Linked DNA regions of Homo sapiens: all the other regions are linked to region 1. The links are contacts of gene promoters, found by promoter capture Hi-C in human tissues and cell types (Jung and others, 2019). All regions are on one chromosome and are shown on one strand. Each heading gives the region's core, a stretch centred on a gene start or on the middle of the fragment in contact. The rest is flanking DNA. Distances are from core to core; before and after follow the strand shown.

Evidence for each region. Contacts are between HindIII fragments. The study calls those that stand out against the background at their distance.
Region 2: a fragment that was not itself captured here is called in contact with the fragment with the promoter of CCDC178 in region 1 in 2 of the 25 tissues and cell types used here (H1 embryonic stem cells and adrenal gland).
Region 3: a contact is called between a fragment that was not itself captured here and the fragment with the promoter of CCDC178 in region 1, in 2 of the 25 tissues and cell types used here (aorta and lymphoblastoid cells).
Region 4: a contact is called between a fragment that was not itself captured here and the fragment with the promoter of CCDC178 in region 1, in 3 of the 25 tissues and cell types used here (H1 embryonic stem cells, lymphoblastoid cells and thymus).

Annotation. Positions count from the first base shown.
Region 1 is chr18:33,438,951-33,442,838 of GRCh38, forward strand. It overlaps CCDC178 (coiled-coil domain containing 178), which reads right to left and starts at 1,771. Exons shown (of 23, transcript NM_001105528.4): 1 at 1,703-1,771; 2 at 1,012-1,131. The HindIII fragment of the contact is 6,939 bases long and covers 1-3,888 here.
Region 2 is chr18:33,314,589-33,318,476 of GRCh38, forward strand. The region is part of intron 11 of CCDC178 (coiled-coil domain containing 178); the gene reads right to left. Among named protein-coding and RNA genes, the nearest start is that of CCDC178, 120 kb to the right of the region's middle. The HindIII fragment of the contact is 7,209 bases long and covers 1-3,888 here.
Region 3 is chr18:33,513,716-33,517,603 of GRCh38, forward strand. No RefSeq gene overlaps it. Among named protein-coding and RNA genes, the nearest start is that of ASXL3, 63 kb to the right of the region's middle. The HindIII fragment of the contact is 9,416 bases long and covers 1-3,888 here.
Region 4 is chr18:33,367,086-33,370,973 of GRCh38, forward strand. It overlaps CCDC178 (coiled-coil domain containing 178), which reads right to left. Exons shown (of 23, transcript NM_001105528.4): 6 at 2,965-3,104. Among named protein-coding and RNA genes, the nearest start is that of CCDC178, 72 kb to the right of the region's middle. The HindIII fragment of the contact is 7,900 bases long and covers 1-3,888 here.

The sequences.
Region 1 (3,888 bases), core at 521-3,020:
GGCTCCTGTTTTGTGTGTAATTGTTTTCCCACTCCATCCACATAGTCTGACATTGCTGTCAATCGTAGTAACCCTATCCCCAACATAAATGCTCTTGGGACAGGCAAATTGAACCAACTGAGGTCAAGAAGAATTCATCGAGTGTTTCTAGATTTTCTTTATAGGTGCAAGTTTGGGAATTTATGAGTCCAGTGCTCTTGGAAATCATGGTTCTAGACTGGTGGAATAAGCCAGTGTGAGAATGAAGTCCATATTATAAAGATAAAAGAAAGAAGAATATATGCAATTATCCCGTTCACTGCTATGGAATATAGAACAGGAAGAAAAATTCTGAGGATGTGGTAACAAATTAGTTGAGTCTAAGGTTGTGTTGAATCTGAGGTGGGAGCAGGAGAGAGAAGTCTGGGTTGTGGATAAAAGCTCTGGCAGCAATCCCAACCCATCCAGGGATAGTGGGTAGACTAACAATCAAACTCATATTTTCGATAGTTCTGGAAATTAGACAGATATAGTTTATAATAAAACTTTATGACTGCAACAGTAAAGTAAGAAGTATTATATATTCAAGATAGAAATACACTAGTTTCTGTACGAATGTCTAAATAACAATTGAACATAAATAGCTGAAAATCCTCTGGATTCTTGGATTTGTCTTACAACTAGTCATGTCTCTGAGTTCTTAAACTTGGTAAGTGGTGTTCTAAAACCTATTACTACAGCAGGACCAAGAAACAATATTTTGAGGGTAGGAGGGAGATGTCAAGAATGCTGTATTTGGGTCAAGATGCCCAGAGCAATCAATACACAACAGATTATCCAATGATAAATAGGAGTGATAAGCTACCAAGTCAATTCACAAATATTTATTGAGCAGTGGATGAATGTCAAGAAAACAATAATAGAAAATGCTTTGAATTGGCAATCGGGAGATTCTTATATTCCTGAGTTTGAAGATTGCTGGATCTGACTTTTGTCAAATCACAAATCAGCTCTGAATATCACTTTTCTCACCTGTAAAGGGGAGGTGTTGGCGTGGATCATCTTATTTGGGGTGCTTTCGAGCAAGCAAGTATAAAATTCTCAGCCTCTCCGCCAGGAAGTTGTTCAGTATTTGACTTGATTGAGCAGACACTTAAAAAATTAAATATCAAGAAAAGAAATCAATAACAGTTCAAAGGAATAATACATGAGCCACCACAAGGCGGCCTTATAAGCAAAATAAAAGTTGAAATAATTATTTTAAAGGAATAAGACGCTAGAGACGCAGTTACAGACAAGACGAAGTTCCTCTAGGCGGCCAGCGGAGGGAGACTCTGCTTCCCTTCCCCCGGCAGTGGGGACTGGGGGACTGGGGGACTGGGGGACTGGGGGACTGGGGGACTGGGGGACTGGGGACAGGGGTTGGAGGACTGGGAAACTGGAGGACGGAGAACAGGGGGACAAAACGACTGGGGGACTGGGGAATTATGGGACTGGGGATTTGGGGAATTGTTTTCAAACGCGCGGGGCAAGGACTCCCCACCGCCTCTGGAAGGGGTGAAGAACTAGTCGACTCTAACTCCCTCAGGGTGGCCAGGGAATTGCATTTGGTTCTCCCGCGGGAGTCGCGCAGGCGGGCGGCCAGGGGGAGTGGGCGCCGCCCGGCAGCGCCCCGCGCCGAGGCACAAGCGCCCGCGCCGAGGCACAAGCGCCCCCGACTCACCGGCTCCGCGCGTTTCCCCGCGCGTCTCCCGGACCCGCGCCTGCCCACCCCTCCGGCTCTGCTGCGGTCGAGGCCCCAAGTCGGTTATCCCGTGTCCAGGCAACCGCGGGGGCGGCGGCGGCGGCGTGAGGAGCGGGCGGCTGCTGCTCCGGGGCCTCCTGGCTCGAGCCCTTAGCCCCCGACTCCCGGCGTTTCGGCGCCCGATCAGCGCTCCAGGCCGCCCCCGCTCCGCCTTCTCCCAGTGCCTTTCCCTTTCTCTTGTAACCGATTTGCCAACCCAACTCCTTTCCCTCTTTACCGGAGAGGGAAGGAGTGGAGACGAGTCAACGCCCCTTCGTACAGCAGTGAGGTTAGAACGTGAGGGGATCACAGACTTCGTCCACCTTCGGGAGGACCGCAGGACCTCTTTCTTTCTTGCCACTTGGGATGATACAACCAGGACTCCATGCGATAACCCCATGTGGTTTGGTTGTGACTTCAGTATTGAGAAACCTCAACAAACTGTTAAGGAAGAAAGAACTTTTCCTAGTGTCTGAAAGTGGGGAAAATGACTAATTCAAGACTAATTCAAGCCATTTCTCTAAGGGTCTGTTTCTTTCAAAAACAAATTTTTGAAGCATTGATCCTTCTGACAAAATACTAAGTGGCAGGCCGGGTGTGGTGGCACAACCCTGTGCCAGGCGTGTCCTGTCCCAGGACTTTGGGAGGCCGAGGCAGGAGGATTGCTTGAGCCCAGTGGTTAGAGGCTGCAGTGAACTGGGATCGTGCCACTGCACTCCAGCCTGGGCGACAGATCAATAAATACATAAATCAGTGGCACAAAATGTATTACCTACATTTTGTTTCTTCATCTGTGAATATACACTGTGAACTGAAATAGGCTTCAGAGGACAGTCGTGTCTTACACTATTGTCACCGTCTTCTTCAATGAAAACAAACACTGGACTATAAACTGAAGATGGTTAAAAAAAAAAAACAGAATCAGAATAAAGATTAGCATTCTCATCCAGAGAAATCATTTTTCCAGGCAACACTGAGAACAGGCAATTGCCTGCCAAGGTTAAATCAGCAAAGTCTATTACTTTAAGAGGCAATTTAATTAGTAATCCTTTCTAAGAGGGGAAAACCAGCAAGTCCGTACCTGGAATGTGGTCCTTTCAGCCAAAGATGAAAAAAAGGAAGCAATAACTAACAAACTGGTGGAAGGTCTTAATCTTAAATTAATATATGCAGAAGCAGAGCTCTTTTTGTAATTAAAAAATGGATTCAAGAATGCACTCCACTTTCCCATCTCCCTCCATTAATTATTAAACTTTGGCTTGTTCTCAATACAATGTTAAATTATAAACCAAATGAATCATTTGCATGCCAGTAAATATGTATTCATGAGGGTTCACAATATGTAAATGTGCATATTAAAACAATAGCTAGATTTTTTTCTCATAAAATAAAACTTTACCTACTAGAAATCTCATTATTGACAAGTTTCTCTTAATTAGAACTCACTGATAATTGCTAAACCCCTGTTGTGGCAGGCAGAATTCTAAAATGGACGCCCATGACCCTACCCCTTGGTATACACACCTGCATAATCCTTAGGACTTTAAATTTGGTGGATTTCATTTTCCTGATTAGTTTGTTACCTGACACAATTGACTTGAAAAAGGGAGATTATCCAGGATGGGTTGGCCTTTATTAGGTAAACCCTTAAAAGGGACTGACCTCTTCCTGGAGTCGGAGGTTTGAAGCATCAGAGGGATTTATCAAAGGGATATTCTCTATTGTCACCTTTGAAGATTGACAAGACCCTATGGTAAGGAAGGCAGGCAGCCTCTAGCAGCCGACAATGATCCCAGGTGACGGCGAGCAAGGCAATGGGGACCTCAGTCCTACAACTGCAAGAAACTGAATTCTACAAATAATCTGGATGTGCTTGGAAGAGAACACTGAACTCAAAATGAAAATATGTCCTGGTTGGGCACGGTGGCTCATGCCTGTAATCCCAGCACTTTGGGAGGCCAAGGCAGGCAAATAACTTGAGGCCAGGAGTTCAAGACCAGCCTGGCCAACATGGTGAATCCCCGTCCCTACCAAAAATACAAAAAAATTAGCCAGGTATGGTGGCACGCACCTGTGGTCCCAGCTACTCAGGAGGCTGAGGTGGGAGGATTGCTTGAGCTTGGGAG
Region 2 (3,888 bases), core at 917-3,416, 120 kb before region 1:
GAGATGCTACCCAAATTTTAAAAAGTAGTAAAAGCCCTTCAGGCCTATAGAAACTGAAAATTACCTTCACTGTCGGATCTGACCTTCCATCCCTTCCAACTGGATACTATGCTTACTTAAAACCTGCAGATGGGGGAGACCACAAGATCATTTACAACCTAAATATACGAGCCCATATCTGGTAATGCTCATAAATAACTCTGCCTTAATGTTACCAGGAGTGATGCCTTAGGTTCACCACACCTGAGTAAAAGCAGCCTCAGAACCTAAGGAAAAAAGTCCCACTAACCAAGCTGAATTGCTGTCAGATCTAAGATTCCTGCTCAAAATGATCCACAGGAAACCTTAAAATACATGACATCCTGGAGAATGAGCCCTAGGGCACCGAATCCCCAGAGAAGTCAAAATGTTTAATGGTTTCCTGTCCCCCTCTCACCTGAGGAATAAAAGGCAATTAGGCTTATTCTGGCTGGTACTGGGATAGCAGGTGGTCTCATAGCCCCTAGGGAAGGTTTGCCTACCATGAGTTTACCCTCTGCAACCTCACAACAGGTATAGAAATTCTAGCCTATAAGACTAGTGATGCCCTTACCCTCCTCAAAGTCTCCCTAGACTCACTAACTAACACTGTGCTTGATAATCGTCTGACTTTTGATTATCTCTTGGCAAAAAAAGGTGAGGTACGTGTGGTCACCAGCTCTTTCTGTTGTGCTTGGGTAAGTAATTCAAGATTAAAAACAACGAAAAGACATTAAAATCATCTACAACCAGACCAAGTGGTTGCACCAATTTAACCAAAAGGGCACAGACCCTCAAGGAATATGAAAATGATAAAACAGGCCAGCCCTGATTTCACCCGGTTTCTACCCTTCCTGAGCCCTTTAGCTACCATCCTACTTATCTTGATCTTCAGGCTCTGTCTCCTAAACTCTCTGATCTCTTTTATGTATAAGCAAATCGAGGCCATACACGGATATAAAAAGGTAGGCTTATACCCAGGAGAGAACCAGATCTACCTAAGACTAGCTAGGGAAAAAATTCACTCCTCTAACAGGCCCCATATTGTCAAAAGTGTTCGAACCAGAGTGACTCCATTTTGACTGGGGGCTAGGAAAATGAGGCTGGTCCTTGAAAGGCTGCATTCTCAGAAATTTAGGCATTCCTGGCCTCTAGATGTTTATGTTAAGGGAACAAACTAATAATGTTTACTAAACAGACCCAGATTTGGGAGTGTCCATATATCCCCATATCTGGCAAACAAAGGCATTCCTAATTTTGTGTTAAAGATAATAATACCGATTCTTGCAAAATATAGTAATTAAGAAAATTAATCCTTCATCACAAACCCTTGTAGCAGAGCACATCTCCCATATATACAAGCATTGTACCTAGAGTGGACACGTTCCTCCTCTTACTTTCAGAAACGTCCTAGTCTGTCTATGGAGTATCTGTCCTTTTGAGAGGTGACAGCGTGCTGGCAGTCCTGGCAGCCCTCGCTTGCTCTCAGCGCCTCCTCAGCCTTGGCGCCCACTCTGGCGGAGCTTGAGGAGCCCTTCAGCCCGCCGCTGCACTGTGGGAGCCCCTTTTTGGGCTGGCCAAGGCCGGAGCCAGCTCCCTCAGCTTGTGGGGAGGTGTGGAGGGAGAGGCGCCGGCGGGAACCGGGGCTGCGCGCGGTGCTTGCGGGATAGCGCGAGTTCCGTGGGTGTGAGCTGGGAGGGCCCCACACTCGAAGCGGCCGGCTGCAAGCCCAGGGCAGTAAGGGGCTTAGCACCTGGGCGGGCAGCTGCTGCGCTCGATTTCTCCCCGGGCCTTAGCTGCCTCCCCGTGAGGCAGCGCTCCGGACCTGCAGCCTGCCATGCCTGAGCCCCCCGCACCCCTCCCCCCACACGCCGTGGGCTCCTGCACTGCCCTAGCCTCCCTGACGAGCGCCGCCCCCTGCTGGATGGCGCCCGGAGAGCAGGTGCAGGGCACTCCTGGCAGCTCCACCTGCCGCCCCAGTGGGAGATCCACTGGGTGAAGCCAGCTGGGCTCCTGAGTCTAGTGGGGACTTAGAGAACCTTTATGTCTAGCTAAGGGATTGTAAATACACCAATCAGCACCCTGTATCTAGCTCAAGGCTTGTAAACACACCAATCAGCACCCTGTGTCTAGCTCAGGGTTTGTGGATGCACCAATCGGCACTCTGTATCTAGCTAATCCGGTGGTGACTTGGAGAATCTTTATGTCTAGCTCAAGGTTTGTAAATGTACCAATCAGCACTCTGTGTCTAGCTCAGGGTTTGTAAATATACCAATCGACACTCTGTATCTAGCTAATCTAGTGGGGACATGGAGAACTTTTGTGTCTAGCTCAGGGATTGTAAACGCACCAATCAGCACCCTGTCAAAACGGACCAATCAGCTCTCTGTAAAACAGAACAATTGGCTCTCTGTAAAATGGACTAATCAGCAGGATGTGGATGGGGCCAGATAAGAGAATAAAATCAGGCTGCCCAAGCCAGCAGTGGCAACCTGCTTGGGTCCCCTTCCACACTGTGGAAGCTTTGTTCTTTCGCTCTTTGCAACAAATCTTGCTACTGCTCACTCTTTGGGTCCACACTGCCTTTATGAGCTGTAACACTCCCTGCGAAGGTCTGCAGCTTCACTCCTGAAGCCAACGAGACCACGAACCCACCAGGAGGAATGAACAACTCCAGACGTGTGGCCTTAAGAGCTGTGACATTCACCGTGAAGGCCTGTGGCTTCACTCCTGAGCCAGCAAGACCACGAACCCACCAGAAGGAAGAAACTCCGAACACATCCGAACATCAGAAGGAACAAACTCTGGACACGCCGCCTTTAAGAACTGTAACACTCACCGCAAGTGTCCGCGGCTTCATTCTTGAAGTCAGTGAGACCAAGAACCCACCAATTCTGGACACATTTTCACCACTTTACCTCTCTTAATAAACTTGCTTTTGCCTTGCACTGTGGACTCACCTTGAATTCTTTCTTGCACGAGATCCAAGAACACTCTCTTGGGGTCTGGACTGGGACCCCTTTCCTGTAACAATATTAACACCCAACTTCAGATTCAGAAAGTTGTAGAAGACAGACTTTTACTCCTCAGCACCATTCAAGAATGAGGAGTGAATATACAGAAAAGGGGAGATTTGTTATCCAGTGCAATGCCTACATGACATAGCTGAATTTCTACCCTGCCTTAACTCTGCTTATCTTTAAGAAACAGAACACCTGTGATTAAAAAAAAAGTTTCCTTTGTAACCAGACCAGCTGAGACAGGTTTAAGCCAAGATAGCCAACCAAAGGACTTCAAAAGGACCTCAGGCCTCATTATAATCTCATTTCCATGCTAAATGGAATGAGCACCCAGCAGCACCGTGACCATTGCCAATCCTCATGAAACAACCGGAAGAAGGCATAGGAGGACAAAAATGAAGCAGCACTCTGGTTCTGGGAAGTTGACTACCTATTTCCGGAAAAGATAAGAATATTCCCTCCCCTTGCTTTTAATGTCCAACCTCCTCATTAAATAAATCCTATATTTTAACACCCTCACCCTTCACTAGTGGAGAAGTTGAGTTGTGAGCCATGTTACTACTTCTCAATTCCATGGTCTGCACTGCTTAACACTCACTTTTGGTTTTGTGTATTGGTATTGTGACTCCAAACAAGGAAAGATCCCATCTTCTGGGTGAGTGGCTTTGTCAGTAAAATGAATATCAGGGAGGAGAAGCTGAGATCATTGGAAGCCATGTCAGATGCTGCTAACAACAGAGTCCTTTGGTCAATTGCATTTCTCGTAGTTGGTGGTTGCCAAGGTGCAGTCATATGGTCTTCATGTTAAACTCAGGACAAAAGGAAATGATTTAAATAGATAATAAGCCAG
Region 3 (3,888 bases), core at 566-3,065, 75 kb after region 1:
TATGTTATTTCATAAAAAAAGTCTTAAAACATTAAAAAAAATCTGAAATAGTATCAAGCATTTTCTCTGACCACAATGGAATAAAACTGTAAATCAATAACAAGAGGAATTTTGGAAACTATATAAATACATGGAAATTAAACAATATGGTCCTGAATGATCAGTGAATCAATAAATAAATTAGAATAGAGACCAGCCAGGCCATCATGGTGAAACCCTGTCTCTACTAAAAAAAATACAAAAATGAGCCAGGCATGGTGACACGTGCCTGTAGTCCCAGCTACTCAGGAGGCGGAGGCAAGAGAATCACTTGAACCTGGGAGGTGGAGGTTGCAGTGAGCTGAGGTCACACCACTGCATTCCAGCCTGGGCAACAGAGCAAGACTCTGTCTCAAAAAAAAAAAAATTAGAATAAAGAAATTATGGAAAAATTTAGAAATATTTTGAAACAAATCATAAGGGAAACACAACATACCAAAACATAAGGGAAACAGCAAAATCAGTACTAAGAGCTATAGTACTATAGCTATAAATTTATTGCTATAAATGCTTACATCAAAAAATAAGAAAAACTTCGAATAAACCACCTAACAATGCATCTTAAAGAACTAGAACAGCAAAAGCAAACCAAACCCAATGATTACAGCAGATTTCTTCACAGAAATAGAAAAAAATCCTAAAACGATATGGAACCACACAAGACCCAGAAAAACCCAATCTAATGTAAGCAAAACAAAAAAAAGGAGGAATCACATTACTTGACTTTAAATTAATACTACAGAGCTATAGTAACCAAAACGGTATGATACTGGCATAAAAACAGACACACAGATCAGTGGAACAGAACAGAGAACCCAGGAATAAATCCATATATCTACAATGAACTCATTTTTGGCAAAGGTTCCAAGAATATACATTGGGGAAAGGACAATCTATTTGATAAATGGTGCTGGGAAAACTGGATATCCATATGCAAAAGGATATTTACTTAGCATGAAAAGGGGGAAATAATCTCAAAGCATAATAATATCATCAGAAATATTCAATAAAATATTATTAGGTATGCCAAGAGATGACATGACCAAAGCCAACAGGAAATAAGTAGATTTTAATAAAATAATCAAATATAATACACATATTTGAATTAGCACACAAAGACTTTAAAATTATTATAATTGATATGTTCAGAAAAATAGAGAACAATTTATTGACAATATTGAGTTTCATCAGAGAATTAAAATATACAAGAAAAAATACACAACTGAGATTCTAGAACTTAAAATACAATGTCTAAAACTAGAAAGTTACTAAGCAAATTAGAAATGGCAGGAAATTACCAGCAAATTAGAAATGGCAGGAGACAGCATGAGTAAACTAAGGTACAGATTACTGGAAACCCAAAATAATGTACAAAAAAAGACCTGTAAAATGTGTAATAAGAGTCAGTGAAAAAGAGAGAGAGAGAATGAGAGAGAGAGAGAGAGAATGGACCATAGGCAATATTTGACATGTCCGAACATCTTTAAAAATATCTAGGAATCCCTAGAAGGATAAACAAAGGTTACCCTAGGCTTGTTGTGGTAAAACTGATGAATAGCAATAAGAAAGAAAAAAATCCTAAAAGCAACAAGAGAGGAGAAAAGACTACATTACCTGCAATGGAGGAATAATGAGACTAAAGATGGAACACAATGGAATGACACAATCAAAGAAATGAAAGGAAAAGCTGCTAACCTAGAATTCTTTAACCAGTACAAGCATTTTTCACTGTACCTTGATGGAGGTAAAATAAACAGGTTTTTCAGACAGAAACTGCCAGAATGTGTTGCCTACAAACTTGCACTAAAAATATAAAGCAATTAAAATTCTAGAGCTGTGCTATATAAAAACCTTGTAAGTTATCAATGCTTAGAACAACACAAAATCTGAACATACTAAAAATCAATGACTTTCTTTATCAGATAATTGAAATCACAGGGCAAACCACCACCTTAAAATTAGGAAAGAGATGTGAATACAGAGGCGCACCTGAGATCTGCTTACCTAGAGCTGTTGGAGCCATAATCTGCTAGAAACATGTAATGGCCATTTTCATCAACTGCTGGAAGCTGAGGATAGGTAGACAAGCTTGAGAGTGAAAATGCCTGGGGGCCCCATCATTTCATGGATTTTAACTCTAGGAACTCTGCCAGGTTCTCAAAGAAAAGATCTAATAAAAATGCCCTCCTGATTCTGGCAGGGGCAATGGTGAGTATCCAGAGCATTCTTGATAAAGAAAAGACCTACTCTCCAAGGGAAAAGACTTTATCAGAGCTTATCTGACCTGTGGAAAAGACAATTAGCCAACTCTAGCACCATCTATCCTTCCTGTCTCACCCAGAGAAGGAATAAACAAAGCTGAGAAGTTTTTTTTTCTTTTTTCTTTTTTTTCTTTTTTTGAGCCTGAGTCTTGCTCTGTCACCAGGCTGAAGTGCAGTGGTGTGATCTCAGCTCACTGCAACCTATCCTTCCCAGATTCAAGGGATTCTCCTGCCTCAGCCTCCTGAGTAGCTGGAACTACAGGTACACACCACCACACCCAGCTAATTTTTGTATTATTAGTAGAAACGGGGTTTCACCATGTTGGCCAGGATGGTCTCCATCTCTTGACCTTGTGATCCGCCCTCCTCGGCCTCCCAAAGTGCTGGGATTACTGGTGTGAGCCACCACACCAGGCCGTTGAGAAGCATTTAAAAGGTCACAGCTCAGGGATGCAGGCCCACTAAAACACTGATTTTAATCAAAAGATTATCAAAGGCTTCCTCTCCCCCTCACCTTACCACAACATCAATAAGGCAAAAGTATAAGAACATTGAATTGCAACTAAAAGAGCTGCAAGACACAGAATCTGTTTTAAAAGGGATTCTTAGGGAAATTCAAAGATAATAGGAAAGGAGAAAAATAAGGATACTAGAGAAATTGAACCCTCTGGCACCCATAGCTACAGCGAACATTAAACACAGCTCATTGATATGCTAAGAAAGATAATAAATAGAATCATATAAAATATTCAATTAAAACCAGAGAATGAAGAAAATGAGAAGATAAGCAAAGAACAACTGCAATTAACATAAAATACTTGCAAACATGGTATATATTAATCCAACTATACCAATGATAACTTTAAATGTGAGTGTCCTAAATATTCTAATTAAAAGACAGAGACTGTCATAATAGTGAAGGAAAGACAAGGGCCAACTATATGTTGTCTACAAAAATCTGCCTTAATATAAAGATGTTGGGAACAGGCCCCCAAATCTGGCCATAGACAGGCCCCAAAACTGGCCATAAACAAAATCTCTACAGCACTGTGACAGGCTTGTGATGGCTATGATGCCCAGGCTGAAGGTTGCTGGTTTACCAGAATGAGGGCAAGGAACACCTGGCCCACCTAGGGCGGAAAAACCACTTAAGGTGTTCCTGAACCACAAACAACAGCATGAGCTGTGCCTTAAGGACATGTTCCTGCGGCAGATAACTAGCCTGAGCCCATCCCTTTGTTTCCCGTTTTAGTTAATCTATAATCTATAAAAACAATGCTTATCACTGGCTTGCTGTCAATAAATATGTGGGTAAAACTCTGTTCATGGCTCTCAGCTCTGAAGGCTGTCAGCCCCCTGATTCCCACTTTGCACTGCATATTTCTGTGTGTGTGTCTTTAATTTCTCTAGTGCCGCTGGGTTAGGGTCTCCATGACTGAACTGGTCTCAGCATAAAGAGGCATCTAGGTTAAAGGTAAAGTGATGGAGAAAGATATACCATGGTAACACTAATCAAAAGAATGCTAGAGGTCAGGCATGGTGGCTCATGTCTGTAATCCTAGCACTTTGGGAGGCCAAGGCGGGCAGA
Region 4 (3,888 bases), core at 698-3,197, 72 kb before region 1:
AATATTTAAAAAATTTTCTCCATTTGTAATTTTTGTGGGTACATAGTAGGTGTATATATTTATGGGGAATGTGTGATGTTTTGATCCAGGCATGCAATGTGAAACAAGCAGGCACAGAAAGACAAGCATCACATGTTCTCACTTTCTTGTGGGATCTAAAAATCCAAACAATTGAACTCATGAATATAGAGAATAGATGGAGGATTGCCATTTTAAATATTTCTTACACACATAACTCATTTTATGTGACGTGAGGATTTATGCTTAGGTTAATTCTGAATTATGATCTTTATTTACTTATTTGGAAATATTAGATGCTATTAGCTTTGATTTCAAAATATCAGAAGCTATCTTTCAAAGAGTTCTTTCCAGTTGTGCCTGCTTAATTTTATTTTTGAGGAAATTTAAGTTCCTATGTCAATGTAAGGTTGTCTAATATTACCAACATTTTTTGGTAATATTATCACTTTTTCCATGTGATAATGGGAAGATTTTTTTCTTATTGTGATAGGTTAGTCAGAAAAAATTTTTTCATCTTTCAAAAGGATAGCTGACCACCAGTTCATTCTTAAAATATTAGTTCAAATACTGCATAGATTTGAACTAAATATCTAATGGAGAGTCCTCATCATTGCACCAAACATAGTACTTATGTTCTATTTACCAGTTCAACACTAGCAAATCTAACTGCACAGTCAATAATAAAACAAAATAAGATAATTTTTAAATATAGAAAATAGAAAATCTACAAAATAACCTTGAAAATTAACAGAAAGTTTGTCATTAGCATTTATTTCATAATGAATCTCCTTTCAGATAAAACTCGTATTTATTTATTCATAAACAAAGAATTATCATTATTGAAATTTTTGTCTAGAAGTGTACTTTTCTATCATTGTTATTGTGTGTTTCTTCTCAAAGTATCAACTAATATTCTCCTAAATGAGAATTAAGTTCTCTCCAAGGATATAAAACAGAGGTTGAATGGACTTTGGAGTCAGATGGAACTAAGTACAAATTCCAACTGTAGTGCTCACTACCTGTGTGATGTGTACATATAAGGTATTTGACTTCTCTATGCCCTAGAATTCTCATCTGTACAGTAGAATTTCTATAAAGGGCAAAACAATAAATATTTATTAAATGTCTAGAAAATAGGAGAGGTTAGGTACATAAATCACCATTACCATATGGAGTGGATAGGTGCCTCAGATGTATGCAGAATAGAAAGGTTCTGTTTTAGATCTTCATTTACTTTTTTATTCAACAGACAGTTATTGAGTGCCTACTATTTATCTGGCACTAATCTAGGCCCCAGAAGACAAGAGTAAAGAAGTCAGCTCTGGTGCTTCTCCTTTTTTGAGGTTTTTCAATATATTTACATGAGAATAGCTCTTTTTTTCAGTTTTTTTAAAGATAAGATATAAAATATCTTGGCTCATTTTGTAAACTATTTTATCTAAGGTAATATTTTACCTGCCCTATTATCCATAGTATCTAACAGTTTATCAACTGTTCAGAGCACCAAGTCGGATTCAGGAAAGAATATGGGCTTTGAAAACAGACAGAGGGTGTGTGAATCCCAATTCTGCCTTGTGAGCTTGAACAAGTTGCTGAATTGTTTTAAACTACTATTTCCCTATCTATCAATTAGGTATAACAATAACCATTCAATAGTTTTGTAAGGTCTAAGAGCAATGATGTAGTAAAACATAATGTCTGACTTATATTAGTTTTTTAATCAATGGTAGCTGTTATAATTATTTATTAAAATACCTGTTTTAATTATTTATTAAAATACCATTATACCATTTTAATAAGTGGTAGTTGTTATAATTATTTATTAAAATACCTATGATTTTTATCATTTTTAACAACATGGGTAATTGTTAATTAAAACTCATAGGAAGTATATAGCATATCATAGCAACAAATATTAATTTCTGCTCTTTATTTCCTTGCCATAGTCTTCAAAGCCCAGGACACCATCAGTCCTGTGACCTATAAAGCATTTCCTGAAGGGGTAATCTGATTTGGAGAAATATAGAAACAACAAAGGTAACACAATGCTGATATAGAATGATATAAATAATATAGAAGTAACAGTGACAAATATATATTGAGTGCATATCATTTGCTGGTACTTGTTCTAATATAGTATCACTATCTCTTCATTCCCATCTAAGGTCACTCTAAAGCCTGCAATCTTGAAGACTGTACTCTAATGATCTCTAACAAAAGAGGTGACATCCTAGACTGAGAATTGTAAGTGGCCCATCAGAATGTTTGCTGAGCCAGATCCAGTAACAGTGGAGAGAAAAAAAAAATAGCACAGGTCTCTGGAAAATTGATCTCCCATTTGAGCAGTCTAATTCTGCATTAGTTGTTCAGAAATATAATCTTAATAAAAGGTATGAGAAGTGGTATTTTTTGTCATTCTTAAATCATCCTTTGAAAATAATTGCCTTTCAAGATTGAACTCCCTTCAGAATAATAAAGGCAAACTTTTAACAGGTTAAAAAGACATAGAATCATTATATTCCTTTTCAATAGAACTATTAAGCATTTCTTTAGAATAAAACAACTCATTAAAAAGGGCACACTGTCCTTTTATACACCAATTTAATCATCTAATCAGTTTAGTGTCCCAAAAAGTATGTAAATACTACTTAATTTACTAGTGAAGTTGGCTTATGGAAATTACTACTTAGCATGATTGCCTCTGGATAAAGAACAAACAGGTAGGGAAAAAAACATCGATTTAATAAGGTCGTTTCACCCTTCTGGAGTGAGACTATCAAAAACATGTCTAGACTAGTAAATGATGCAACTGAGCAAAGATTCTTAAAAAGCATTCCAATTATCATTTAAAAAGTCCAGAGTTTCCTGGGTTCTTTAAATAACCAATCCTTAGAGGGTCGATAAAGCTTACCAAAATATCAGCATTTTAAATTAGTCTCTTACCCTTTTCAAATGCTCCTGTATTTTGGACTCCACATCTTGGATGTGTGAAATCATTTTGTTGACACAAGGTGCTGGAATATTTACTACGGCACAGCTGTGACGTCGACATGGGTAGCTAAAGTAAATGCCTTTATTCACCCCTAAAGAGAACAAATAGAAGTTCATTACTCATTCTATACAAAGTAGTAAATTTTGATGTTCAGAATAAGCAAAAAAATTCTGCTTTATTAGTGCTAATACTCTTAGTTTCCTTAATAGAGAGGCTGAGAAATCTGTCAGAAAATTATAGAACAAATCTTTAAAAAACGTACAAGCTAAAATAAAATAATCATTTATGATTTAATTCTGTAACAAATAAAAATGAACCCGAGAAGCCAAAATAAAACTTCAAGCAAAGTTGAAAAACATAGCATTGTGAACTAAACATAGGAAAAAATGAAGGAAAAAAAGGCAGAAAAAACAGTTGACCCATGTGTTACTAAACAGATTCTGAATCTCTTAAAAATAACTTTGAAATATATTTTAAATATTCCCTTCAAAGAGATGCTCTCTTTCAATGTAAATAATATCCAACTACTCATGCATTGAAGTTCTTCCTTAAATCCAGCATGAGTTTCTCTTGCTGAAAAAAATAAAAGCAGGTCTCCTTCATCCTCATAATAACCTCATTTTCTACCTTCCATTTCTGAAAATTGGAGTCTCATACGAAGAGTGATTAATGTTCTCACTATAGTATTCAAGCTGTACTCATCATAAAATCCACTCAGTCCGATGTGCCTCAGTGATTCTAATCCTAGCATGTCCCAAATCGACTGAAGGTTGCAGAAGCACAGCAAAGTTGTCCATGAAACTCCACCAAAGTGCTTACTTGCAGTCCTTTTGACTCTAAGGACTCTATTGGGCTGGATTATAGTTGCAATCACT